7 separate regions of the Homo sapiens genome follow, and all the other regions are linked to region 5. Evidence: promoter capture Hi-C in 16 types of primary human blood cells and fetal thymus (Javierre and others, 2016). All regions are on one chromosome and are shown on one strand. Each heading gives the region's core, a stretch centred on a gene start or on the middle of the fragment in contact. The rest is flanking DNA. Distances are from core to core; before and after follow the strand shown.

Region 1 (3,708 bases), core at 1,066-3,565, 990 kb before region 5:
AGCTCAACTCCAGGAGGGAGGTAAAGATGCCAAGAAAATTGGCTCTCCTTGTGCCTCCTATCTGTTCTTATAAAGATTGCACATTTCCCTCCTTCTTTAGTGTTAGGGAGATCCTTATCAGTCAATCCACATTTCCATGTGGAGGGGTGTGCAGCAGAACAACAACACTCTTTTCATCTCTACCCTACATGCTTTTCCTTCCCTGTGGAAAAAGTGACTTGCCTGATAGTGAGTTTGAGAATAGCAACTGGGCATGTGCACATCAGCCTATCCCTTAGTCCTTTCTTCAGGGTTTGTCTGCCTGTAGAGAGCATGCATACTGATTTGCCCTCGACCATGCAGTAAGCTTGGAGGAGTAGGCTCTGTCCCTGTGGACATTGCCTCTATTATAAAATATGCAGTTCAAAATCTACTTCATACTTCTCTAAATGCCAGCAAATAATTGTGATTGATTTCTCAATTGTTTATGATCAGAGAATGTGGTCTGCATGATACTGAGTTTTAAAAATGTGTTGGGACAGCCGGGCACGGTGGCTCACGCCTGTAATCCCAGCACTTTGGGAGGCCGAGGTGGGCGGATCACCTGAGGTCGGGAGCTCCAGACCAGCGTGGCCAACATGGTGAAACCCTATCTCTACTAAAAATGCAAAAATTAGCTGGGCGTGGTGGCGCATGCCTGTAATCCCAGCTACTCAGGAGGCTGAGGCAGGAGAATCGCTTGAACCCGGGAGGTGGAGGTTGCGGTGAGCTGAGATCGCACCATTGAACTCCAGCCTGGGTGACAGAGCGACTCTCTGTCTCAAAAAAAAAAAAAAAAAAGTGTTGAGACTTAATGTCTTATAGTTTTGTCAATTTTGATAATTTTCCATGTGGTCTTCAAAGGTATGTATGCCCTCTAGTTTCTGAGTACAATGTTTTATAGTGTCCACTAGATTAAGCTTGTTAGTTGTGTGGTTCATATATTCTGCATCCATAATGATTTTTAAAATGTGCTTGACCTATTATTTTCTGAGATATATATATCTTAAAATATGCTACTATGATGATGAATATTTCAACTTTTCATTGAAAAATTCACTGGATATTTTTACTTCATATATTTTGAAAATATGTTAGGAGGTTATTTAAGTTTAGAAATATTAGATTTCCTGGTGAATTAAACCTTTTGTAGATATACAGTAGCCCTCTTTATCTCTAGGATACTTGTCCTTCATATTTAAAAAATATGTACAATTTAAAATTACTATATTTAAAAAAATTTAAAACACTAGTTTCCTTCTTTCTTGGTTAGTATCTGCCTTGTATATCTTTTCCAATCCTTTAAAAATGTTTTAATTGTGATAAAATATACATAGCATTAAATTTACCATTAAAATTTTTTTCATTGTACTGCTCAATAGTGTTAAGTATATTCGCATTGTTGTGCAATCAGTCTCCAGAAATTTTCCATCTAAATTGACACTCTGTACCCATTAAATAACAACTCATATTTCCTCATTCTTTTATTAAACTTTTCTGTATATTTACATTTCAGGAGTATCTTTTACAAACAGGACACACATAGAGTTTTTCTCATTATCCATTCTGATAATCTTTGTCTATTAACTGAAGAATTTAGCTCAACTACATTAATTGTAGTTACTAATATACAGTATTTGAGTTTAATTCTAAAATCTCATGTGGGCTGTCTGTTTCACCAGCTCTTCCTCTGCCCTTCCACTTCCCCAGTTCCAACTCTCTTTTGGATTGATTGAGACATTTTTCTCATTTTATTCCATCCCCTGCCACCGCCAACTAGTATGGAAGATATGTATTATATTTAATTCCTTTAGTGGTTATCCTAGAAATTTTTCACATATATTTAATTTCAGAAAGTTTAAAGTTTATCATTCTCTTCCTTTTTCCAAATAATAAACACAATTTGAGATACTTTAATTGCTTCCAAATTATATGCTCTTTAGTTCTACCTTAATTTTATGTTATTATAATTTTTCTTCTTTGAATAAAATGTCCTTTATTTATATATTTTTGAATCTTTATGTTAGAATATGTTTATAGTGATCTCAGTTTTTGTCTGTTGGAAAATGTCTTTATTTTGGTGTCAACCTTGAAAGATACTTTTTCTGGACATATGATCCTTGGCTAAAAATTATTTACTTCTATCACCTAAAGATACCATTTTTTTTTTTTCTAGCTTCCATTGTTATTACTGACAAATCAATTCTCAGCCTTTGTTGGTGATTAGCTTTTTCTGTCTGGCTTCTTTTTTTTTTTTTTTTTTGAGACGGAGTCTCGCTCTGTCACCCAGGCTGGAGTGCAGTGGCATGATCTTGGCTCACTGCAAGCTCCGCCTCCCGGGTTCACACCATTCTCCTGCCTCAGCCTTCCGAGTAGCTGGGACTACAGGTGCCTGCCACCACATCCGGCTAATTTTTTTGTATTTTTTGTTTTTTGTATTTTTTTAGTAGAGACGGGGTTTCACCATGTTAGCCAGGATGGTCTCAATCTCCCGACCTCGTGATCTGCCTGCCTCTGCCTCCCAAAGTGCTGGGATTGCAGGTGTGAGCCAGCATGCCCGGCCTCTGTCTGGCTCTCTTTAAGAACTCTTTAACATTGATATTCTGCAGTTTCACTCTGTATCTAGGTATAGATTCATTGGATTTCCTGAATCTGTACATCTGTATCTTTATTCGGTGATTGGAATGTTTTAGTTATTTTGCCTCTGAAATTTTGCTCCCCTTTATTCTCTCATCTCCTTCTGGAACTTTAAGAAGACAAATATGGGACCTACTCATACTACTCTTTGTGTGTCGATGTCTTATGTATTTTCCTTTTCTTTGTTTCTTTACTGCTATTTTGGTAATTTCTTCATATATATTTTCCAGTTTGCCAGCTCTTTGTTCAGCTTTGTCTAACAACTGTTCAATCCATCCATTAGTAAATTTTGATTATATTTTTATTTTCTGAAGTCTTCGTATTCAATTTTGATAGTCTCTTGCTCCTTCAATATTCTTTCAAATCTCTTCTTTTTTTCCTAGACATGCTTTATATGCTGCATATGATAATTGTAATATCTATAGACTGCTGGTCAATGCTGACCACCACACATGGTGGCTTATTTCCTTGTGTGTCTAATGATTTGTGATGAGCAACTCATGAGGTTCTTGTTTAAAGAACATTTCTTTAGAGAAAATTTGTGTTTGCAACTGCAAGGTGCCTAGATGAATTATTGACCTAAGTCCAATTTAAACTAAATTTAGATCACACATAAATATAGGCTTGTGGTTAGAAATGTTTAGAGAAGAATTTCCCCTCCACTGTTTTCTATTCCAACTCCAAATGTAGCCAAGAATGACACAAACCAATCTCTTTCTGAAGGATGGTTTTATTTCTTGCCCACCCACTTAGTGGGAGAAGTATCATCTTTTGGGGATACTGACTTTCTAGAGGGGTTTCCTGTTCAATTTCTCCACCCCATCAGGCCTCAGGCTCTTCTTTTGTTACCTGAACACCACCAAAACTCTAAGTAAACAGGTCAATAGAAGCCTCTAAGGTAAACCCCAAATGTAGAGCTTGCTGCTCCTATATTTCTGGCCTACAATTTATTCCTTTACTTTACAGCCAGCTAAGCCATATTTAAAGAAAGAAGGCTTTTACATTAATATAGCCTTTGTAGGTATCTTGTACTAAGAGGAAGCTTTCTGAATG
Region 2 (4,192 bases), core at 6-2,505, 580 kb after region 5:
TTTGCTTGAAAGCCCTAAACTGTCACAGGTAATAATACCCTGAGTGTCTACCTCAAAGGTAAGTAGCTACATTTTTGTGCCTGAGAAAATACCTAGAGGGTCACAGGATGGAACAGCTATGTGTATATTTGTGAGTCTATTTGAGCAATTTGGTTTTAATTAAACTATGTTTGAGTAAGTTAATGGTTGGGGAAAGTAATTGTTTCGGTTCACCAGTCAGGATTATTAATGATAACCATAGTAGCAATGTTTATGAGCACTTGACTGTTTCTGTTCTGGAGTTTTTTTGTGAATTAACTCAAACAACCGTTTGAAATTGGTGGTGTTATTACCACCAGCATTTGACAGCGAGGAATTGGGCACAGAGAGGTTAAGTCATCTGCCAGTGGTCTCATAACTAGGAAATGGTGGAGCCAGGGTTGGAAGCAATGCAACAGCTTGTGTTGTCTCAAATGAAATGCTTTCTGTGGTTCCTAGGCTTACAGGGAATGACTAAGACATTGTTTGGCCTCAAAAAAGCAACTAATAATTTGTGTATTTATTTCTGTTAACTGTATACTTATTTTTGTTAACTTATTTCATGTCTCTCCTGCTACCCTATAAGCTTCCTGAAAGCCAAGTTTATCTTCTTTTTGCTCACCTATATATTCTTTGCTGGAAAAGCACCATAAGGTGCTTAGTTATTGTTGGCCGAATGAATGAATAGCTTAATCATAATAGGAGAAGTCTCTCAGAAGTCACTTTTGTCCCCTTGCAGCTCTATGGCAGACTGAGCTCAGTAAGGCAAAGTATTTACCATGGATCAGAGTTTTGGGAACAAAAAAATAAAAAATGAAGTATTTGTTTTTTATTGATTCCTCTTCCCCTTTGCCAGGAGATACTTTGGTTTGGAAAAACTGAATTCTGCATACACAATTTTAAAATTATTTCCCTTTTAATCTTCTCTACTTTCTGAGTTAAGAGCTGTTTCTATTCCCCTTTTGCAAAGGAGGAAACCAGTGTAGGGAGATTCAGCTTCTTCCCTGATGTCTCACCAGATTCAGCAGAGCCTGGCAGAGTTGGTGCCAGTGCCCCTACGTGATGTGCTGTGGTGTCTACTAGGCTAGGGCTATGAAAGTGGGCTGTGGACTCCTTTTTGAAATGTGGCCAGCCACAATGTCCCTTCCCTCCCAGGACTGCCTTCGTGTTTTTTTTTTCCTGGCCCCTTTTAAAAATCTCATCCAACATTACACTTTGGATGTGCTTATTGTTTTCTAGTCTCCTCCCCACTAAGACCTCCAATTTCTCCCCTGATTACAACTGAATTTCTTCATTTAGAAAGTCAGAAACCAGTCTGGGGAATACTGTGGAAGGTGGAGCACTAGCATGACTGGATATGTGAAACAAAGGACAAGTGGATTCTCTGGGGGAAAAAAACCCTAGAAAACACATAAATGCATCATGACAGGACAGTGACTAGAATGTGTTCATCCTAACCATGGGAACAGAGCAAAGAATTAATTTCTAAATTCGCTACCAGGATTTAAAACTGGGACGATTTCACATTAATACTGCATTTCTGACTTTTGGGGGAAAAAAAAAAACAGTTCAAAGACTTGCTAGCACTGGGCCCTCAGTCTTACCAGGTGACATGCGCTGGAGCTGACAGGGGCAGCCTCACCTTTAGTCATGTGGGGTGTACTTCATTTGGCCCCTTTCCCTATCTGCTCTGTTTTGCTCTTTGATGTTACCTAACTCTCAGCAGCATTGAGTTTGTGATTCCTGATTCACAGGAAGATTGTGTTCTAGTTACAGTCCTGTACCTTTTATAGCAACTCTAATCCTCCTCTTACCATCTTTGCCTTGTTGGGAGATAGGGTAAATGGCTTGATCTGTCTGCAGTAGATTGTGTTAGAATTACGTAAGTAAAGCTTAGGAGTGATGATGGAACATGAGAGAGAAAATTGTATCCTTGTATTACAAAAAATTATAGTGTAATTCCAGTAAGTCCCTGGAAGAAAGGGATACCTTTTTATTTTATTTTATTTCTTTCACACTTAACTAACTCCAGGAAATAACTTAAAGGAAAAAGAGGCAGAATAAGATAATGATGAAGCAGACTTTTTAGTGAAGTTTCTCTCTGTTAAGTGAAATAATTAAGTGTTTTCCAAGCTGGTCTGTTAACTCCCTCTGGCATTTGTTCAAAATTCAGATTCCCGGTCCTCTTTGGAGTCAGTAGGCTGAGGTAGAGACTGTAAATACATTAGAACTGCTCTCATGGTTACTGTTTGGCAAATTTGGGACACCCTGACTTCGTGCTTAGGATTGTAGCCCCTTTTTGTTATGGCTTAGCGTAGCCTTTGGGTTTTTTTTTGAGACTACTGATGCATTCTTGTTCTTCCAATATACTTCGTGAACCTAGTGCATTGAATTGATTTTCAAAAGCACAAATTAAGTCACGTAACTTTGGGGTTAGTATTTTTATACGTTTTGTTTAGGTTTTCCCAAAAAAGTAAAAGTGTATTTTTTTTGGTTCTTTTATTTACTCGGGAGGTGGTTATTATACTTTTATTTTCATAATAAATGAAACCTACTGTTAAGACAACGAAACTATTTCCCAGACTACACAGCAAATTAAAAGAACAGTATGTGAAATTCAGATCTTTAATTCCAGAATTGTAAAACATTCAATAGGCCTTACTGCCTGCTTCTGTGACCCTTATTTCAAGTTCTAAGTAAACACATGCATCTTATCCACAGCCCTGACAATCATTGCTCAGGCAAATGTTAGAATCACTTTTTTAATGATAGAAATTAAACCTCCAAAGACCAAGGTGTTATTGAGTGAAAGTGTCTGTTCCCATCCACCTTATGTGTCCCTCTCAGATGTGTCCTGAATCCTTACCTCTCTCTCTTGAATCTCTTCTCCGCTAGACTTTTTCCCCTTGTTTGTTTCGTTTGTTGTCATTATAGGGACAGATGAGCATAGTAGTTAAGAGTCTGGACTTTGTAGCCATAGTGCCTATGTTTAATTCCTGCCTCCAGCACTTACTGGTTGTGTGACCTTGGGCCTCTGTTCCTCATCTGTAAAATACAGTTAATAAAAGTACCTACCTCATAGGGTTGTTGTGAGGTTTTAATGATTTAATATACAGAAAGTCTTTAGAACTGTGTGTGGCCCACATATAAGTTTGGTTTTTATTAGCACTCATTCTACCTGTCATCTAACTGTGAGACCTTAAACATAGTTTGTATTTTAACTCCCCTCCCACACACCTAATCATTTAACAGATCCAATCAGTTTTGCCTGTCTTGTCATTCTTAGTGTTCCTTGCCACTTACCAAGTGGCAATTGCAGTCACCTACCCTCTTGTAATTTATTTCCCATCCTATCTTATTTATTAATATTTCTCACTTTAAGATCTTACTTCATATTTACAGCAGGACAAAAGTCCAGACACTGAGCTTGGCATTTGACACCTTTAATGTGATACTACCAACCTCCCATCTTTTTTTTACACTAGCCAAAGTTGGTCAATACCACTCTCCACGTCTTTGACTGTAACTTGCTTATTTCTGCTTTTGCTTCATTTTCAGCCTTTGTTTCTTTTCCCATCTTTATAAATCCTATTTTGTAAATCTCATGAACTTCTTTCTTAACGTTCTCTAATACTTGCTCTTATTTTATGTATGTTTTATCTATAATCACGTTACCTGCCTGTTATTGTATAGCTTTTCTTGTAATCCTCATATAGGATAATACCTGCTGCTTTAACAAAGCCCAGATTTCAGTAGCTTAGCATTCTAGTTTCTCATTCATAAAAGAGTTCAGTGTGAGTGTTATTCCATTCTGTGGCTCTTCCATTCTGTAAGGGCTTTGTTGGCAGAAGGGTAAAGTGGCAATAGGAAAGGAATTCTCCTTAACCTTCTGAGCTCTGCAGTGACACACTACTTGCACTCACAGTCTGGTGGTGAGAGTCACATGAGCCACTTGGATGTAAAGGGAACTGGGAACTGGGATGTAAAGTCACATGGGCCACTTGAATATAAAGGGAACTGGGAATGAAAAGGTTTGACTGAGTTGACATCCCACTGACAACTATACGATAGCAGTAGGGTTGTGAATTCTGGTGAGTCATTCATTAGCTGTCAATCTCTGTCATAGGAACTGTAGCGTATTTCCTTTACAAAACAGTATTCTGAAGCACCTAGT
Region 3 (4,091 bases), core at 794-3,293, 970 kb before region 5:
GTAAGTTAAAACTCATTATTAACTCTATGAAACTGAGGTCAGAGAAGTTGTGCTCAAGGTTGCACAGCCACGAATGGTAGAAAAGTACTTTGATCTCAGATATTCAGGCTCTAGAGGCATTCAGAAAACACTTACAGGCGGATGAGGTGTTTCTATTGAGATAAGTGGAATTTTTATTATATGTGAAGGAGTAGAGTTGAAGAGGGATTCTTTCTACAGTATCACTGATAGCTTCTCACTCTTCAGTTGATTTAACACATCTGGTAATCAAGAGTACACAGTGGAAAATGTCCAGCATACACTAGACAGTTTTTCTCTTATCTTCACTATGTCTAGCCTTTTGTCTTTTTACCTCAGAGAGGTAAAACTTCTAGTTCTTTCTGTTCTCTAAATCAGAAATAGGTTATCACCTACCATTAACTTTTCAACAATTCCCATTTTTTGTTGACATATAAGCTCATGCCTGTGTATTTGTATTGCATGTATACATGCAGTGTTGTCTCCTGGCATATGTTTTTCTCATTCACATGATAAAATTAAATATATCTGCATTTCATGGTGAAAACCATAACTACAAATGCTCTACCTTGTTAGTGCGTTTGAAATCTACTATTCTACCATATAAATCTTCCTTATCAAATTCCTGCAGCATTTAGTATGCATATTATATAATTATTCCTTTCTTATCTATCATCTTATTTCTCTAAATGTGCAAGTGTAACTGTCTCATTTTTCCAACAAACCATGAATTCCAAATGGGCATAAATGAAATTCCCTGTTTTACAGTAGATAACTCTTCAGTGCATGCTGATCAATTCTTCTGGATTCGGCTGACCATTTTTTCTCTCTTTGCTCCATATCTATTAAGCAATGATAAAGTTTGAGTTAATGCAAGTTGTGAGTTATAAGGAGGTGTGGTTTTTCTTCCATTCATGACTTGCAGCAGTCATTCTCAGCCTCAGTCTTCCATCTGTGAGATGAGAATAATATTCTTGGCCATGACTAATGCTGTGAGTTTGCAGGGGACAGATCTGAGAATTAGATGAGAGGCCATTATGAAAGGGCTTTGTAAACTCCAAATTTTAGACAAACAATAAATGTTACCTTCATTGTGCGTAAAGAAACAGTAACTTTTAAGGCCCGATCATTATATATAAACAGAAAAAAATCTTGACCGCCCATCTCCTATCATTCCTTATAAGTGTCTGATAGCTTGTAAGTCGCCCTTTACTTCTGTCTGACCCAAGTGCCTCCGGGGCTGACTGCAGGGAGGCTGCCTGGTAAAGGCTTTCAGTTGGCTCAAATGGACTTTGGCCAGAGCCCCCCAGTTGTCTGTGTTTCTCTTGAGGGGCTACATGATGAATGAACATGAAAAAATTCTTTTTTTTTTGGTATTATTTCTATTTAAATAATGATGAGAAAGAATAGGAAAAAGTAGAAAAGCATTCAGGTAACTGCGCTTTGCTCTCATGGTCAAGCTTATTGCTATGGACTGAATTATGTCTCCCAAAATTCACATGTTAAAGCCCTAACCCCCAATGTGACTCTATTTGGAGATAGGGTCTATAAGGACCTAATTAGGGTTAAGGAGGTCATGAGAGTGGGGCCCTGTTATGAAAGGATTAGTGTCCTTATAAGAAGAGATGCCAGAGAGGCTGGCTCTCCCTCTCTCTCTGTGCACACAAAGAAGAGGTCATGTGAGCACACAGTGAGATGGAGGCTACTTACAAGCCAAGAAGAGAGGTCTCACCAGAACAGGACCATGCTGGCACCCTGATCTTGAACTTCTAGTCTCCAGACTGAGAAAATAAATGTCTATTGTTTAAGCCACCCAGCCTGTGGTATTTTGCTATCACACGTCAAGCAGATTAACACACTTATGATAAAGAAAAGGTAATTTAAAGAGAGGCAGCTTTAACCTATATATGCAGTAATGCCAAGCATTCTTTTATGTTAATAGAGAACAATTTAATATCCACAGATTGTGTACGCTTTGTGACAGCAGTTCCCTTTTTGTTATCTCCTGGGAACTTTATTTAAGCCAATATATTGTTTTGAGTTACTAGATATTTCCTTCAGGAATTATTTTGTCTGCTATGCACTGAAAAAAAAATCACATACTGTGAATACCTAAACTCTATAAAGAACCTGTCACTCACTGTTCCTGAAAATTAGAACTGTACAGAGTCATTGTCTTTAGGTGCAGCCTTCCTCCTACTTGCTTCAAAGCTCCCCATTCATCAGCTTCCCTCAGTTCTAAAACTTGCTGGCTTTGCATTTTTCCTTACTTTGATCCCTTTATGCTATTTGAATTTGTTAACAATTGAGGGTTGATGTTATCTAATTGACATCATTATTGCTATATACACACAGTGAGATTGCAAATCTCAAAGAAAACTTGCAATACCTGTTACTTGATTTACATGGGAGGGAAGTTGCATCAGTAAAGAGGTACTAATTAATGCTATCATGATCATATTCTGAGATGTGTAACTGTATGACCTAGATTCAGAATTTTAGAGATGATAGGACTTAAGGCATTTTCTGGTTCAATCATCCCATATTAGAGATAAGTAAAATGTGATCCAGAGACATCAGGACACATTCTCAAAGCTTACCGCTAGACTGAAGCAGAATTTTGACTCATTCATTCAATTAGTTATATCATGTGACCACCTTGCAAAATATTCCACTTTCTTCCTAACTTATCAGAATAAAATCTTGAATTCTACAGTGCCCAGATCTGGGATAATTGGATGAAGGGTCATTTTATATTTAATTTTGCCTGTAAACATAAACTGTGTTGCCACTTCTCTGAGATGATTTCAAAATTGCCTGATTCAACTTCACATAAAATTCAGCTTTTCTATAGATAAAGTTTTTGTGGGTTTTCTTGGGTGTTATCTGACCTATATAGCGCCATATGACAACACTCTGGGGAGAGAACAGATTTTAAATATCTTCAAAGGATGAATGGGGTTCATATTCATGTCTTATATTTGAGACTCAATGTTTTCTAATCTGGCCTTTCAAAGTGAAACCTCTGATTTTCTCTGCATCTTGGCTATTTGGAGATAAGCATGTCAGACCCAGTTTTAAAAGATACCTTAAACTCTATTGATATACAAAAGAAGTCTCTTTCAGATTTAAAATTCTATTAGGTGTTATTTGGGCTGGGCAAGGTGGCTCATGCCTGTAATCCCAGTGCTTTGGGAGGCCAAAGCAGGCTGATCCCTTGAGGCCAGGGGTTCAAGACCAGCATGGCCAACATGGTGAAACTCCGTCTCTACTAAAAATGCAAAAAAAATTAGCTGGGCGTGGTGGTGCGTGCCTGTAATTCCAAATACTTGGGAGATTGAGGCAGGAGAATCGCCTGAACTGGGGAAGCAGAGGCTACAGTGAGCCGAGATCACGCCACTGCACTCCAGCCTGGGCAACAGAGGGAGACTCTGTCTCAAAAAAAAAAAGAGTGTTATTTTACTAAGGTCAGCTAAGATAATCAAGTAGGTTGGGCAAATTAAATTAAAAAGTGAGCAATTTTGTTCTCTTTCTTTTTACTTACAAAAGCAAAAACACCTTACACGGTAATCTGATTATCTTCTCTTTGCCTCATTCGAAGGAGATAAGAGATGCCAATGAGAGAAGAAACCCATAACTTCTTTGCTGTATTTTTGTTTCACCATCCAGCAGCAAAGGTGGGGGCTGCAAAGGACCAAGAAGCCATCTGACATTTCTAGAACATCTGCACAGGCTTTTGGGGTCAGCTTCTTTCGCTTCTTCTACTCTTACTGATTGTAAGTTGTGGAGAGAAGGTAGTGCTCAGCCAATTCAATTCTCTGGATCCCTTGGGCAGAACAACACACCTGTTTTCAACCCTGGCTGTAGGAAGTTCCACTTTCTAGTCAGACCTTTGTATCTCATGCTTCACCATCCAGAACTGCATTTCCTAGAAGGTTAAAGTTTATTAAAAAAATTTGAACAGAGAGTAATTTCTGGGACATGTTAACAAAGACAGTGTGAGTGGGAACATTGAAGAATTAACTAAAAACAAGCATTAATAACATTTTCTTTAAAAAGTTTGAAATCTCAAT
Region 4 (4,147 bases), core at 501-3,000, 780 kb after region 5:
ATGCATTTTACAAATAGATGGCTTGTTACCATGCAGTTAATTTTGCCATTTCTAAAACAGATATTCAAAATACCTTGATTCATTTCTATTGCTGACCATCAGAAAGATAGAGTGGTATAAATGAGAATAAATCTCATTACCACATCAGAAAAGCATATTTTAGGAATTCAGCATAGGAAATAAAATTGTGCCACATGTAATCCTCTATGTAAGTCTCCTATCTGATTAACAGTAAACTCAATTAGTATCTGAATATGATTTACATTATCACTCACCTGGGCTTTTAATCCCATTTTATGTAGCTTTCGTCCCTTGATAAATCCTTTCATTCCATTTTCCACCAGAAAAAGGCTAATACCATGGGCAGGGGAGGGAGCTTCATGATTTGTGACCGCAACTACAATCACAACATCACTTAATGACCCATTACTGATGAACACCTGCAAAACCCCAAGTACATTATTAATGCACCATGATAATTCAATTCTATGTGCAAGTTATGATTGGGAGAAAGTATATTACAGAAAACTAAAACAGACAAGACATGCTTGATACCTCTCTCTGTACCCTACCCAAATATCTGCAAAGTTGATTATTCACACATGATGTTATCAAGGATCAGGGGAAAAATTACTTAATGCTTCAAAGAATGAAACCTATAGATTTTCTTTTCACTATTAATATTATACATAATAATAATAAACAGAGATTATTATGTTCTTTAAAAATGAAACCAAATTGTCTATTATGATGATAAATTGTATTTTAGAAGGAAGCCACTGATAAGAAAAGAAAATCTGGCCGGGCCCGGTGGCTCACACCTGTAACCCCAGCACTTTGGGAGGCCGAGGCAAGAGGATCATTTGAGCTCAGGAGTTCAAGACCAGCCTTGCCAAAATAGTAGAGACAAAAAAATTAAAAATTAGCTGATGTGGTAGTGTGCACCTATATATAGTCCAAGCTACTCAGGAAGCTGAGGCAGGAGGATCGCTTGAGTCCAGGAGTTTGAGGTTACAGTGAGTTATGATTGTACCACTGCACCCCAACCTGGGTGACAGAGTGAGACCCTGTCTCTAGAAAAAAAGAAAAGAAAATAAAAGAAAAATAAAAAGAAAGAAAATCTGCTGTAAATGGCACTATATTATTTATTCTCAGATTTATCAGTTTTTGAAAAGGACTATTTTTGATTTTTGTAATTGATATCCTGCTTCCTTTAAAATGGTCTAAATAGGAAACTATGATTAAGGAGGGAAAAATGACAAGCCAAATGAGAGGGATTATCAGATGATATTGATACAGAAAACAGTATACTCAGAGCAAATATTAATAATTATCTTCTCATTCTGCATCTTTCCTGGTTCATCTCAATCATTTTCACGGCTTGAGTCACCCTCTACATGCTGATGTCTCCAAATCTTTATTTAAGCCATGTTTCTTTTCTTTTTTTTAGAGACAGGGTCTCTCTCACCCAGGCTGGAGTGCAGTGGTGTGACCATAGCTCTTTGCAGCCTCAAACTCCTGGTAAGCCACATTTCTTGATAGGACCTGGACCTGAATAAGTACTTGCTTCTGGATAGTTCCACCTGATGACTCATGGGCAGGACATATTCCTTCCCACCCCTACTCCTATCCAATCCTGATTATCAACCTATTTCCCTATCTCAATGAATGCTTCAATAAATTACATTATCATCCTGCTTCATATTCAATTCAGCATCTAGTTTTTTCTAACCCATCTTAATACTTTTGGAATTTATTCACTTCCTTTCAAGTCTATTGTAATTACCTTATTTCCAGCCCTCATCATTTCTTAAGTTCCTACAACTGATCTCTCTACAGCTGTATCATTCATCATGATGTCAAAGAGATTTTTCTAAATGCAATCTGATCATATCACCTTCACACTTAAAAATTTTTGAATAGCTCCTAATAGGCTTCAGGATAAATTCAAAACCTTTAGCAGGAAATAGAAAACTTATCACAAACTGGCACTAGCTTACCTCTCCTTACCTGGCTTATTGCTTGTCCCACTTTCCCCAATTTCCTCTTCTTCAGTCAGCTCTACTAAACTACTTGCTGTCCATCACGTTGCGAGGTCTTCCTGACCTATGAGTCTTTGAAAATCTTGTTTCTGCTACTTGGGAAAGGCCCTTTCCCAACTCTGCTGCAATGAATTGTACTCATCCTGGGTGGTTTAGACATCAGATTGGCCAAAAGGTCTCAAATTCTCCAGGCTGGGTTAAGCGGTCCTACAACACCTCAAATTTACCAAAATGATCTGTTTTTATCTCTCTCTCTTTGAAATAGTAGGGGTATAAAATGATGTTGGTTACTCCCATCACCTAAAATGCACAGCACTGATACATACAAATAATGAAAAATGGGCAAATAATGTTAGTGTTGTCTACACAACAGCAAATGAATATAGTGGTGGCAGTATGGTTATAGGTGACACAATAATAAAAGATCATCAACGTGCCTCCTTACTAGGAGCTCATAGCCATTTCCTATTCATATATCTATCTTAAGTGCTTAGAATTCTTTTTGGCACAGAGGAGGCCAAAGGATGTTTTAAAAATATATTTTGAAAAAGATGTTCCTCAAAAAAATTCTATACAACTTGGCAAAAATATTTTTTCAACAGTATTGCTCCATTACACGACTCCCTTGCTCAAAAACCTTATAAGTCTACCAAGCTCCTACCTTTCTGTCTAGTTCCTAATGTCTGTATAGCTGCCACAGTTGAAATGCTATGAGTGCTTTTTTGTTTGTTTTGCATCACACAGCATCCAGGAATTAGTATCTACAGTATGCTCTCAAATGGTCTCATACATGTTTTAACTACAGATAATAAATAAACAATGGAATAGAAAGGAAGGGAGGAGAAATTCATTGGGCAAAAACTATTCATTTTAATATGCTGAGCTCAATTTGGTAAATCAAGTGGAGTTCTCCAGAAGTTCTTATTGGAAGTAATTATAGCAAAGGATTAATAAAATCTGAACCATTTCTACAACAGTGCGACCTAAAGTGAGTTTAAACACCATGGTGGATCCCCCTTTCTAATAGAGTTATATGAGAATTTTCCTTGCAAGTGGACTTTCTCAGTTTGTTTCCTAATTATGACACTCCAAAGTTTGAATAGGGCTGAAATTATCCCTAATGAGGGCCAACATTTTTGGGTGGTAGGAGGATATTAAATGCTTATAAAATAACAGAAAATCATTGCAGATATTGTATAGAGAATGTAAAGTTCAAAAGAAAAAGGAAAATATAATTCTCCATAAGTACATAATACAACTATCATTGATAATTTCCTTTCTCATATTTTTAAATTTTAATATAGTAAAAATGTTCCTATACTTGCATTCTATATCCTGTTTTTTCACTTAATGTATAATTATTTCCTGTACTGTTAAAAACTTTGTGTTGCTAGTGTTAATGGCTGCACATTCGTTCAGATGCACCGTATTTGCTTACCCATTCCTTTACTTTTACTTGCTTTCAGTTTTTTGCTATTTCTAATAGAGTTTTTGAAACAGAGTCAGTGGTACTTTTCCTGTGTGGTTCCCACAAAACCCTATGGCTGAGCAGACGAGGTCTGCTTAGAGAGCTAGAGGCATAAGAGAATGTGGTTCCCATTTCACTTCTGACCAAATATCCCACTCCCCTTTCAAAACAAGCCTTCTATATGTGAGGAGTTAACTGATTATATGTTGGAGCTATCATCCGTTTAATTATAATTCTTAGGAGAAATTATTTAAACAAATATTTATTAAAGTATATTTGAAGAACACCAGTGATTCAATTTTGTAAATACAGAGATAATAGCCCAAACTTATAAAAACTAATTCTTCAACAGACCTTGGCACATATTTTCAGAAAGATTGTTTTAGAACAGTAAATAAAATGAACATCTTTCCTTCACGTAACACTCAGTCAACAACAAATATTTACTGAGTATATACCAGATACCATTTCAGGTGGGCAATATCACTTGCCCTCAGTGATATCAAATGCATTTGCCCTCATTGATATCAGAGATCCTGAGCCCATTTGTAACCTTAATTGGAAGCGCTCTCCAATTCTACCAGTGAGTTGATTAATTTAGTAGAACTGAATGGTTCTCAAATGGCTCTCAAATTCT
Region 5 (3,963 bases), core at 1,210-3,709:
GTCCCCTCCTAAAGTTGTTTGACATCCCAGGGCACTGACTCCTGCAAACTGTATTTCTTAGGCTGCTTTGTCAACTGACTTTCTTCTAGGTTCACCCAATGACAGGGTTTTGAAATACAGGTTAAAGGAGGGCCACAATATTTCTTTTCACTCTCAGCTTTTGGAGGACCCTCCAGCATTATCTGTCTCCCAGTAAGCATCTCCACTGTGGTCTCAGTTCCTTTAATGTAGCTTGTGCTCCTCATTCCTGGTAAAGCCTCCTCTCTAGCACTCCCCAGCCTGAGAGTGGTAGTACTTTCCTGCTAGTAACTATCATCGTGTTGCCTCATCATCCCCTAGTTGGCTTTTTAGTCATTTGAATCCTTTGTAATTTGTTCCCCATATTAAATTCTCTCTATTGAATTACAACATATAGATGCTATTTTTCTGAAAGAACTCTAAGATGTGTGTCGAGAGGAGGCAATCTCCCATATAAGGACCAGGTTCCCCAAAGAGAAAAGCCATTAGAGTTTGGCTGCCTCAGCTAATCTTAAAGTGGAGGAAAAAACAAACAAACAAACAAACAAACAAAAACAAAAAGTGCTGAGGAACACTGTACTTTAAACTATCAGAGAAATAATGTCTTTTTTATTGCTGTTTTTTAGAGACAGGGTCTCACTCTGTCACCCAGGCTGGAGTGCAGTGGTGTAATCATAACTCACTGCACCCTCAAACTTCTGGCTTCAAGCGATACTCCCTCCTGAGCTGCTGGGATTACAGGTGTGAGCCACCGCTCCTGGCCCTGGAAAATTACTCTCATTGAGCACCTGCGCCTGCATGCCTGGTCATGAATGTCAGCTGCTAACACTCTGGTAGCATGCCTACTCCTTCCTCCCATCCACATACTGTCTATGATTTCCTAGTCTCCTAAGACCTCCTTCTCAGTAAGGCCATCTTCCGAGGAGGAGCATCAACTCCTCCAACCTCCCAGCTCCTGGGTGTGCCTTGATACTTCCAAACTCACTGCAAGCGTCACTGGCACATGGTATGAAGCAGAGCGGGGGAGGCAGGACACAGAGCACTGGGTGTGACTGGGGAGGGCAGGCTTTCACAGCTTCCTCTGTGATGGTTTCTAATCCTTGCAGGCTCCCACCATTGGGTCTCTTTCCATCTGAAAATGGAGGAAATTAGACCAGCTGCCTAAAACATCAACTCTAATGTTCTAGGTTCTAAGATTCTGTGGTTAATTTAAGTGACAGAACCACATTATGGCTGCTGTTTCATCAGCACTGTGAAGACTGTACAAGCCACACCTCAGTATGTTGGCTGACCTTAAAAACACCTTGTCAGTACTTGATATAGACACTCGAAGTAATTCTAAGTTGCATCTTACTTTTCTTACTTACAATAAAATGCTGCTCTCTGATTATGAAGATTCATACTCCTTAGTACGAATGGTAAAGAATCATTTGTTTTCTCAGGTGGTCATTTCACTTTCAAAAGCATTTAAGAGGCAATTTTTTTAAGGGTGATATTTCAAGGTCAACACTTTCCGTGCTTTCTAATTCATTGTATTTGTATCATTCTTCAAAGATCCTTCATATTCATTATCTTTTTAAGCATAAGAGAATTGGGCTGTCATTTTTAGTTCTCATATGACACATGAATACACTGAGAGTTAGATTAAGTGAACTGTCTCTAGAGCATACGTCTGGCTATCTAGAATGTAATAACTATAAAGGGAGGGGATCTTTCTTATTAGGGTTGTGGGAAAGGTCTGTCACTGATGTTTCTAATGCTTAGAAGAGTGCCTGACACATAGTAGGTGTCAATAAACATTCGTTGACTCAATAAATGAATGAATCTAATTCGTGACAGAGCTGGGTCTAGAATTCTCTACTCCCTCAGCCATTGCTCCTTTAGTGCTGACAAGAGTTGTTCTATGTTCTCAAGCGCCCCACATTCCTTTGTCTTTTCTGGATGCACCTGTGGTTGGGTTTGTGAGGCGAGGCCAGTGAGCTTTCCTGGTGAGGTGCCACTGGCAACCCCGCCTCATAGCGACACAGGGGAGGGAAGCAGGGGGTCTGCGGAGGTTGCTCCCGAGAGACTAAAGCTGTTGCCCCCGATTTTCCAAGGACGCCAGTGAGGAAGGCCCGCCTGTCCCGCCGCCCGGGCACTGGCCTCACTTTGTCGCGGGAGGGGACCAGGGCTCTGGAGAAGGCCCGGGCCAGCGGCTGGGCGGGGCTCTCCGAGGCTCCCACCTCGCGGTCCCCGCCTGGCGGCCGGCGGCTGCGGCAGAAGGCGAAGCGGTCGTGCTCCCCCTCCCGGACACTGCGGCGGTGGCAGCGCCAGCCCCGCCGCGGCCGCCCACGGGCTCGCGGAGTCTGGCGGGACCTGCGCGGGGCGGGACCTGCGCGGGGCGGGGAGGAGGGGCCGAGGCGGAGCTGCTGCGCTGGGAGCCGGCTGGGGGCGCCGCTCTCAGTCTGGGGCGGGCGCTCGGGCTGCGCGGGCTCTGGGCAGCAGCAGCAGCAGCAGCAGCATCCTCTCTTCCTTTACTTCCCTTCCGCTTCTTTCTCTTCCTTCTCCTTCTTTTTCCCCCCCCTCCCCTTCTTCCCCTAACCCTTCTACCCCTCTCCTTTTTCTCCGGAGGGCGCTAAGTCCGTGAGCGGTGGCAGTCGCGACCGCGGGTGCATCCAGTTTCTGCGCCCAGGTAAGAGACCGTCCCCACCTCTGGCTCTATGTAGGGCGCCTCTCCTTTTGCCTCGGTCTCTGAGTAGAAAGAGATAGGAATGGGGAGGGGTTGTGTCTCGTCCTCTGGGACTCGCAGCAGGCAGTCTGGTAGTTGGTCGAGTGGCCAGCCGTGCACCTGGCGGAAGATTCGGGCCTGTCCTCTCCAGGTGTCACTGCGGAGCAGGGGGCCGGACGCTACTGGTACCTGAGCCCTGGCTTCGTAGAAGAGCGAGTGAGCTTGTTAGGTACCACTTTGAAACAACTGAAAACTTACGCCAGGTTAGAATACGTGTATCGAAAGCCAGTATTACCTGCGCTGTGGAAAGAAGGGGAGTGGATTCTACAAAGATAGTGGAAAATAGGAAATCGAGGTAGGGGATTTTTTTGTTCATCCAGCTGCAGAGAACTGCACACTGGGAAGTGAGTGAGTGAGGGAAGCCTTGTCCATTTCAAATCATGTTTCTCTGTAATTCCTTCAGAAACAGCTGGGAGAGGAGGACTGATATTTATAATTGTAGGAAAATGAAAAATAAATGCCTGGTGGTGTTGGAGGGCGGGGCACGAAGAAATGAGTCTGGTTAGGCTTCCACACAGTCGTTTTTCTTTTTAAACGTTGGGGGTGGACCTCTGAATCTACAGTGCATCTATTCTTTTCTTCCTTTTCTTTTTAAAAGGCTTTTTTGGTGGGGAGAGGAGGACTGCAGTGCTGGCTGCCTGCCTTCCCCCACCTCGTCTTTTGTTTAAGGATGGAAATTTCAAGAAAGAGTGTGTGGGGGGCTAGGAGTGGGGAGCTGTATATTTGGGTGTGTATAGGGGGAGGGGTATGGATGGAGTCAGAAAAAAAATCCTTGAAAACTGGAAATTAATGTTATTCTGCCTGGCATCCGGACTTCAGGATTTTTGTCAGAAAATAAAAAGCTTTCATTAGCAACAAGCCCGTTTGTGACAATTGCTGTGTGCCATCTGTCGTAAGCTCTTAGCACAATGCTTCCAGGACATAGACGCTTTAAAATTGAGTCCGGTGTAAAGGGTTTTTGTTTAAATGCCTAAACACACAAGTATGCACACAAATGTATAATACACTATATACATGTTACAAAAGGAAATAGGTACTTAAGAGACTGATTTTTTAAAATTGTATTTGAGGGTTTGGAAATTATGTTGTGAATAAAATCTGTAGTGCAAAACAAAAAAATATTGTTGGGTGGTATATAATTTTGGGTGTGAGGCAAAGGGATTGATGACTGTTGGTAA
Region 6 (3,770 bases), core at 381-2,880, 950 kb before region 5:
AAGGCTTTGGGGGCCTGTTGGGAAGGTGTGATTGCTTTTGAAATGTGAGGACATGAGATTTGGGAGAGTCCAGGGGTGGAATGATACCTAAATCATTTCCCTCCAGTTCAAAGTTCCAAAAGTCTCTAGGGCAGGGACAAAATGCCACCAGTCTCTTTGATAATAGATAACAAGTCACCTTTGCTCCAGTTCGCAACAAGTTCCTCACCTCCAAATCTCATCTTGAATTCCCACATGTTGTGGGAGGGACCCAGTGGGAGGTAACTGAATCATGGGGTCACTTTCCTGTGCCATTCTCATGATAGTGAATAAGTCTCATGAGATCTGATGATTATATAAGGGGAAGTTTCCCTGCACAAGCTCTCTTCTCTTGTCTTCCACCACGTGAGATGTGCCTTTTACCTTCTGTTATGATTGTGAGGCATCCCTAGCCACATGGAACTGTAAGTCCATTAAACCTTTTTTTTGTTTTCAGTCTCAGGTATGTCTTTATCAGCAGCATGTAAATGGACTAATACAGTCTTCCTTTGTCTCTTAACAAAGTTAATCTCCTATATTTTATTAATCATCTGATGAATAAATGTTTGAGTCTGTTTTTGTTTCAAGCATATTTCAGAGTCTTTTTTTGCATTAATCCTCAAATAACTTTTAAGTAGGTATTTTTATTATTCCCAGTTTGGGTTCAAGAAAGGTTATGTAACTTGCCTGAGGTTATACATTTAGAAAATGCTGAAGCCAAGGTCAAACCCAGGTAATGCCATGCCAGAGCCCACAGTTTTTGCTCTTTCTTGCCATAGGATTTAAGCTAGAGCAGTGTTTCCTTATGTAGGGGCACATACCCTGGTGCATGAGAGGACTTAGGTGGTATATGCAAGGTCATTAAGCATTATTGAATCATATATGAATATTGGTCCATTTCCAACCCTTCTGAACACATCAAGGAGAAAGTTTTATTTTGGTCCTGGTCTTGAACAACACTCACATGTGTGGTGTCTTTCTTTGGGGGTAGGGGGAGGTAAGACAGGCAACCCAATCTAGATAACATTTCATAAGGCTTTTTGTTTCCATCATATGTATTTCACAGTTGTCTTTTATTTATAAAAGCTTCTACTGGTTCTTTATTTATGTTTAATGGTATGAAATATGAATTTTAATAATTTAATGAAAGTTGATTGAAGAAAGATATGAAGTAGGCAATAGTAGGTAAATAATATCAATATGGCAAAATCATGATGATGGCACCCTAAATGACTTATTTGGAGAACACTGGACTGGACAAATTCCTTTAACAATGAAACCTGAAATTACACAAAAGTCCTGGCCAGTGTAAGCAGTGGGTGTTCACATGGTTGTGGGAGGCTAGTTGTGTTTCATGTGATCAGACACTTTAGAAGTGTACCGTATTGCATTTTACTTACTAGCTCTGTCTTCCCTGTGTGCTCCTCATGGGGAGGGATGATCTATTCTTTTATTTTCCTAGAATGCCTGACCTTTATTGGTGCCTAGGAAATATTGGCTGAATGAAAATATAAATATATATTTAATGATATTACTTATAGTGGATCATAAGATTATATGATAAGCATGCCACATGTAGGTACCTTACAATCATTTAAAATATAGTTTTCTTCATAGTTAACTGGCATAAATATATCCATATTATTGTTTCAATTTTATAACTGACAATACCGGCACACAGAGAAGTATGTGACTTAGAATTATAGGGTTTTGGAGCTGGGGGTATCTTAGATTTTGTTGAGTCTTACTAACTTTACTAGTCTACAAGCAGTCAAACTCATATCCAAGGTCATACAGGTCATTAGCAGAGGAGGTGCAACTCATAATAGTTTTTATTATAGGGTTGGTAGTTGTGTGAACAAGTGTATGAATCCTGTGTGAACTCTTAACCAGTTGCTGACTGTACTATGATTTAGCCCCTTTTAAAATGAAGTTTTCTAAAAAGGAAATTGGATATTGTAATATCTACTTCATAGGGTTATTAGGAGGACTATGTAAGATTATTAAAGGGCTTAATATAACCTATGAAAAGCATTCAGTAAATAGTAGCCTATAATACGGCAGTAATACTACTACTAGTGGTAGCGTGGTAATAGTAGAGGTGTAGTAACAGAAATGGTGGTTCATGTAGTAGTGATATAAGCTTATCCAAGTCTTTCTGACGCCATCATGAAGTTCAGAATAGGGAAGAGACAACACCAAACTCTGTCTGGAGGGCTTAATAAAGGAAACACCAAGAAGGTGAGATTTGAACTAAAATTATAAAGGAAGACTAGAAATCACTTACCTAAATCACTTAATAGGTAAAGCGCAGAGAAGGGTTTTCCCGGCATAGAGATTAGCCCATGCCAAGTGGGCATGTTATGTTTTCTATGGCTGGAAGGAACAATGCATCTGCAGAATATGCAGGAGATCAGACTGTGGAGTTTGATGGGAGTGGACTCACATGTCATGCTAAAGCACATTGGAATTTTCCTTAAAATTGTGATGAGACATCAAAATATTTTAAGCAGGTTAGTAAGTGGGTCAGATTTGGGTTTTAAAAAGAAAACTCTAGAGGTGTTATGATGGATGGAGAAGATGAACTAGCTTGGAGACGCAAATGTCTAAGAGAGGTACTATTCACCTTTAAGTGCATAGTCCTGTTTGATTGATTCTGACATCTGTATGAGAGACTGTACTCTTGATGCAACCTTCTAAGAAAGAGACAGGAATTAAAGAGTTTTATTAAAATGGTAACAACTGTAAATAACTGTCAGCTGCTGATGTGAGTAATGGAAGGAGATCAGTGCTGCAGCAGCTGGTGAGCTTGGGCAGCAAGCGTGATGGCAATCCATGGTTTTTGCTATTTGATGAGAGTTAGTCCCACATATTCCATTCATTTAAATCCATTTCTTTGGAGATGCTGTAAAGTCTCAAAATATTTTCCTTTATAATGAGTTGATTCATCTTAGCTGAATTAAAATGTGAAAATGCAACAAGGAGAACTTTTTTTTAAAGAACCAAGAAAAGGTAAATATTGTCATAAAATGTAAATGTATAACTAATTTAATGACATATCTTTTATATTTGAATAATAGAAATTTCTTCCAGGGTCACCTTTCTTATAGTACATACATCTAAGCTATGCTTACAGAATAGGAGTAATAAAAGAGAAAATCCTAAACTCAGTGTTTAAAGCAACCCTTAACTGGCATTAAAAAAACAAACACACCATAAAACCTATTAGGGAATTAGGGTCTGGCACTCATTGAGACTTTAGAATTCATATGCTTATTTTTTGCAGTAGTTCAGGCAGTAGTTCCTTTTCTGGCAACTCCATAAAAATAATTCATAGAATCAAAGAATGTTCAAGTTGGGAAGCATTTTGGGGATATCTTGTCCAATGTTTATCTGACAACATTATTGCAGAGATTTTGACCTTTAAATAACCCTCCAGAGAACTAACGTAACTGACACCTTGTGGTTTGCATTAGAGATGTTGATGGGTATTAGGAATATATGGGGCAGTGGAGATTCTTTCTTTTTCAGGTCACTTTTTATTGGCATATATTTACTTACTTTTAGATGTTTGTTTCATCATGCCTCACATCATCATTGTGTATCCAAGCTAAGAACTAATCTTTCTGGTCAATAAACAGTTTGTGGTGTTTATCATGGGTTTGCTCATTGTATCAGTAATGATCAAATTTGAATATTGAATGACATTGAATGACTAAGCAAGTAGGTGACTCCTGAGGAAGCTGCATACT
Region 7 (3,794 bases), core at 1,133-3,632, 740 kb after region 5:
CTGCGTAATATGGTGAGACCCTGTCTCTATTTAAAAAAAAAAAAAATATATATATATACACACACACACATATATTTTTATCCAAAACTAATTGGACGTATCCAGCTGATATGAAGAATTGGTCTTCATATCCAAGTGTATTCATTATTTATTACTGTCTAATATATTACCCCCAAATTTAGTGGTTCAGGTATATATATATATATATATATGTATATCAATAAAAATTAAAAAATTAAAGAACTTGTTTCAAGACAGAGTCAACAATGCTTGACAAAGACTTAACAGGAATTAAGGGAAAGGAAGGAATCAAGGATGACTCCTAGGTTTTTAGCTTGAGCAACTGGGTGGTCAGTGGTGCTATTTTCTGACCTAAGGGAGCAGACTTGGGGAGGAAGAAAGTTGAAGAAGAAAAAAATAAAAATTTCTGTTTTGGATATGTTACTTTTTAAGTGTCTTTTAAACATTCAAGTGGAAACAGCTATAAAAACAAGTCTGGAGTTCAAGCAAGAATTCATAATTAGAGAGATTATTTTGCAGAGTCACTGGCATATAAATAGTATTTACCCTAGGGAGTGGGTATAAGCAAAGAGAAAGGAGCCCAGGACAAAACGTGGGGGTTTACTCACATTTACTTGAGCAAAGGAAGAGGAGCTATAAAAGAGGAAGGACGCTAAAAGAAAACTGAAAAGATCATCGAGATAGGAGGAAATCCAGAAGTGTATGAAATCAAGATACCAACGTGTTTAGAAGTGTATAACATGGTCAGTTCTGTCAAATGCTAAACAGGTCAAGCAGATGAAGATAGCAAAGCCGATATTACTTTTTAAGGAATGTATTGCTTTTAAAAGGTTACATATTAACTAAATATCCAACTCCAGCAGCCTCTAGCCATTCTATCCTACCTAAGCAGGGAAAAACTGAGAAGCACTAGTGAAGTTCACAGCCCAGGGCACAGGCTCATTGAAAGACAGACCTTATCACTGGAATACAGAACATCTTTTCTATCCTTACATCTTATTAAAAGCCTATTTACTAGAGTTCCTTTTACTCAGCACATCATGTTCAGCTTTCAAGAGAAAACGACAAGGCACACTAAAGGGCAAACAACATAGTTTGAAGAGACAGCAAGCATCAGAACCAGATTTAGATATGGCAAGAATGATGGAATTACTAGACCAGGAATTTAAAACAACTATGATTAATATGCTAAGGCCTCTAATGGAAAAAACAGACAACATGCAACAAATGACAGGTAATGTAAGAAGAGAGATGGAAATTCTAAAAAGAGAATAAAAATGAAATGCTAGAAATCAAAAACACTGCAACAAAAATAATGTCTTTGATGGGCTTAGTAGCAGACTGGATGTGGTGGAAGAAAGTAGCACTAAGCTTGAAGATACAGCAATAGAAACCTCCAAAACTAAAAAGGAAAGAGAACAAAGATGGCAGGGGGTTTGAGGAAGAAGAGACTATCCAACCAAGAACTGTGGGACAATTACAAATGGTGTAACATATGCATAATGGGAATACCAGAAGGAGAAGAGAAAAAGAAAAGAAAATTGAAACAATAATGACTAAGAATTTCTCCAAATTAATGTCAGACACCAAACCACATATCCAGGAAGCTCAGAGAACACCAAACTATCACTTAATAAATGAAGAAATATATAAAATTATATTACATGAAATTTTATATACAATAGTATACTTATAACAAATGATCCATTTAAAAATTTTTACTAGAAATTACTTCATCACATATTTTCCCCAAATAGATCAAAAGCTACATGAAGGCAGGTGTTATGTGTTCACTCATCATCGTATTCTAGAATATTTTATGGCACATAGCAGGCTCATAATAAATATTTCTTGAACAAATACTATCCAAAATGGTAAAATTATTTTAAAATTTCAAGGAAGAAGGTTCATGAGATATATTTTATTGTGAAGGAGTCTCAAGGCAAAAAAATTAGGAAACATTAGTATAGAATGTAACTGTCCAATAGAAATATGAAGTGGCTACATATGTAATTTTAAACTTGCTACTACTAGACATATTTTTAAAAGAAACATGAAAAATTAAATTTAATGTCATCATATATATAAAGTATCATATATCAACATGTAATCAATACATAAACATCTTGATAAGCTATTTTCTATTCCTCTGTATGTGTGCCAAGTCTTGTAACCAGGGATCAACTATCGACTACTATATTTCAGTCCCCCAATTTTTTGGCCAAATCTATTGTTTAATATTTTTAGGCACCTATAGTATTCTAGGCTTTATGGAAAGTTTATGGAAAATAAATCCTCAAATAGCTTTCTAAAAAGCACCTGGATCTTCCTATAAATACTCAGTTTCTAATTATTTAGGTTTCCAATTATACACATAATTGGGCAGGAGTATTTGGATCCTTGCTAAATCTAAGAAATGTCTTTACAACTACTAAAATACTTTATTATATTACTCTAGGCACCACCATCATCTTTGATGATTATTTCTTTCATATACACCCAAGATACTTAGGAACAAGAGGTCCCTTTTCTAAAAGAATTTAGTCTAATGATGCAGAACTTCGAAGAACCTAGAAGGAAGAAAACTGGAAAAAAGAATTAAACTTTTTGTCACAACACACAGAAATGAAAATATCAAACTTACAGAATTTAAGAAGCAAAACTAAGTTATGAAAATATATCAGTCCTCTTTCAAAGAAAGCAACTAGATACATAATCTTGATTCTGTCAATAGGTAACAGTTCTAGATAATCCAAAAACCAACTATGTTTCTTGGGTATAAATTTTACTTTTATTTTTTCTGTTTTTTTTTTTTTGTTTTTTTTTGTTTTGAGATGGAGTCTCGCCCCGCCACCTAGGCTGGAGTGCAATGGCACAATCTCAGCTCACTGCAACTTCCGCTTCCTGGGTTCAAGCGATTCTCCTGCCCCAGCCTCCCAAGTAGCTGGGATTACAGATGCATGCCACCATGCCCAGCTAATTTTTTGTATCTTTAGTAGAGATGGGGTTTCACCATGTTGGCCAGGCTGGTCTCGAACTCCTGACCTCGTGATCTGCCCACCAAAGCACTGGCATACTTTTACGTTTTTACAACAGAATTTTCAACTTACATTCCAATTTTACTAAAAAAAAAACCAAAAAACAAAAAACAAAAAAAATTCCTTAGCACATCAGCAGCCCAGAAATGTTATGGATGGCAAAACAAAACAAAAACCAGTCTGTTATAAAACTGTTACAGATAGTCTATCAAGTAAATAATCCTCCAGTAAGCAATTCCAAACTCAGTGTATCTCCGGTTTTTTTAAGAAGTCTTATTAAAAAACACCAGAGAGAATTTCAGTAAGACAAGACAAAGCTTATGTTTTTAAATAATAAACATTTTTTAAAACTAGAAAGAATCAATTTTTTTGTTTTTGGTTATATTAAATTTGTTATAAATAAAATTAATCTAATAAAAACAAGGGGGGATTGTAAAGTTAAATCTACACCATAAATTCTAATTTTTAGACTACAATTTAATCCAAAGAACAATCACTGTGAATTAAGGCATTAGTTGCTATTAGTTGCTCTGAAATTATTATAAATAAAATTAAGTTAATCTGATAAAAACAATAGGTAGACTGTAAAGTTAAATCTATACCATAAATTCTAATTTTGGGTCTACAATTTAATCCAAAGAACGTTCATTGTGAGTTAAGGAAAGCATGAGTTACTATTAGTTGTTCTGAAATTGTGTAACAGTAGTCTCCCCTTATCAGCTGTTTCACTTCCAT

Evidence for each region. The method cuts DNA at HindIII sites, captures the fragments that hold promoters and counts their contacts. A CHiCAGO score of 5 or more calls a contact.
Region 1: a fragment that was not itself captured here is called in contact with the fragment with the promoter of MAP2 in region 5 in 2 of 17 cell types (M2 macrophages and M1 macrophages); the score reaches 6.9 in M2 macrophages.
Region 2: a fragment that was not itself captured here is called in contact with the fragment with the promoter of MAP2 in region 5 in 1 of 17 cell types (total B cells); the score reaches 7.2 in total B cells.
Region 3: a contact is called between a fragment that was not itself captured here and the fragment with the promoter of MAP2 in region 5, in 1 of 17 cell types (M1 macrophages). The highest score is 5.7, in M1 macrophages.
Region 4: a fragment that was not itself captured here is called in contact with the fragment with the promoter of MAP2 in region 5 in 1 of 17 cell types (naive B cells); the score reaches 5.7 in naive B cells.
Region 6: a contact is called between a fragment that was not itself captured here and the fragment with the promoter of MAP2 in region 5, in 5 of 17 cell types (M0 macrophages, megakaryocytes, M1 macrophages and 2 more). The highest score is 6.9, in M0 macrophages.
Region 7: a fragment that was not itself captured here is called in contact with the fragment with the promoter of MAP2 in region 5 in 1 of 17 cell types (total B cells); the score reaches 8.1 in total B cells.

What each region holds. Positions count from the first base shown.
Region 1 is chr2:208,428,284-208,431,991 of GRCh38, forward strand. It overlaps PTH2R (parathyroid hormone 2 receptor), which reads left to right. Exons shown (of 13, transcript NM_005048.4): 2 at 1-20. Among named protein-coding and RNA genes, the nearest start is that of PTH2R, 23 kb to the left of the region's middle. The HindIII fragment of the contact is 2,759 bases long and covers 937-3,695 here.
Region 2 is chr2:210,004,061-210,008,252 of GRCh38, forward strand. The region is part of intron 1 of RPE (ribulose-5-phosphate-3-epimerase); the gene reads left to right. Among named protein-coding and RNA genes, the nearest start is that of RPE, 3.5 kb to the left of the region's middle. The HindIII fragment of the contact is 1,306 bases long and covers 603-1,908 here.
Region 3 is chr2:208,452,786-208,456,876 of GRCh38, forward strand. The region is part of intron 8 of PTH2R (parathyroid hormone 2 receptor); the gene reads left to right. Among named protein-coding and RNA genes, the nearest start is that of PTH2R, 48 kb to the left of the region's middle. The HindIII fragment of the contact is 1,135 bases long and covers 1,477-2,611 here.
Region 4 is chr2:210,205,357-210,209,503 of GRCh38, forward strand. ACADL (acyl-CoA dehydrogenase long chain) reads right to left here. Exons shown (of 11, transcript NM_001608.4): 6 at 276-440. Among named protein-coding and RNA genes, the nearest start is that of ACADL, 18 kb to the right of the region's middle. The HindIII fragment of the contact is 5,476 bases long and covers 1-4,147 here.
Region 5 is chr2:209,421,588-209,425,550 of GRCh38, forward strand. It overlaps MAP2 (microtubule associated protein 2), which reads left to right and starts at 2,460. Exons shown (of 16, transcript NM_001375505.1): 1 at 2,460-2,689. RefSeq lists a silencer at 2,141-2,530. The HindIII fragment of the contact is 4,087 bases long and covers 1-3,625 here.
Region 6 is chr2:208,472,198-208,475,967 of GRCh38, forward strand. The region is part of intron 9 of PTH2R (parathyroid hormone 2 receptor); the gene reads left to right. Among named protein-coding and RNA genes, the nearest start is that of PTH2R, 67 kb to the left of the region's middle. The HindIII fragment of the contact is 1,057 bases long and covers 1,103-2,159 here.
Region 7 is chr2:210,162,032-210,165,825 of GRCh38, forward strand. The region is part of intron 1 of KANSL1L (KAT8 regulatory NSL complex subunit 1 like); the gene reads right to left. Among named protein-coding and RNA genes, the nearest start is that of KANSL1L, 7.5 kb to the right of the region's middle. The HindIII fragment of the contact is 1,984 bases long and covers 1,391-3,374 here.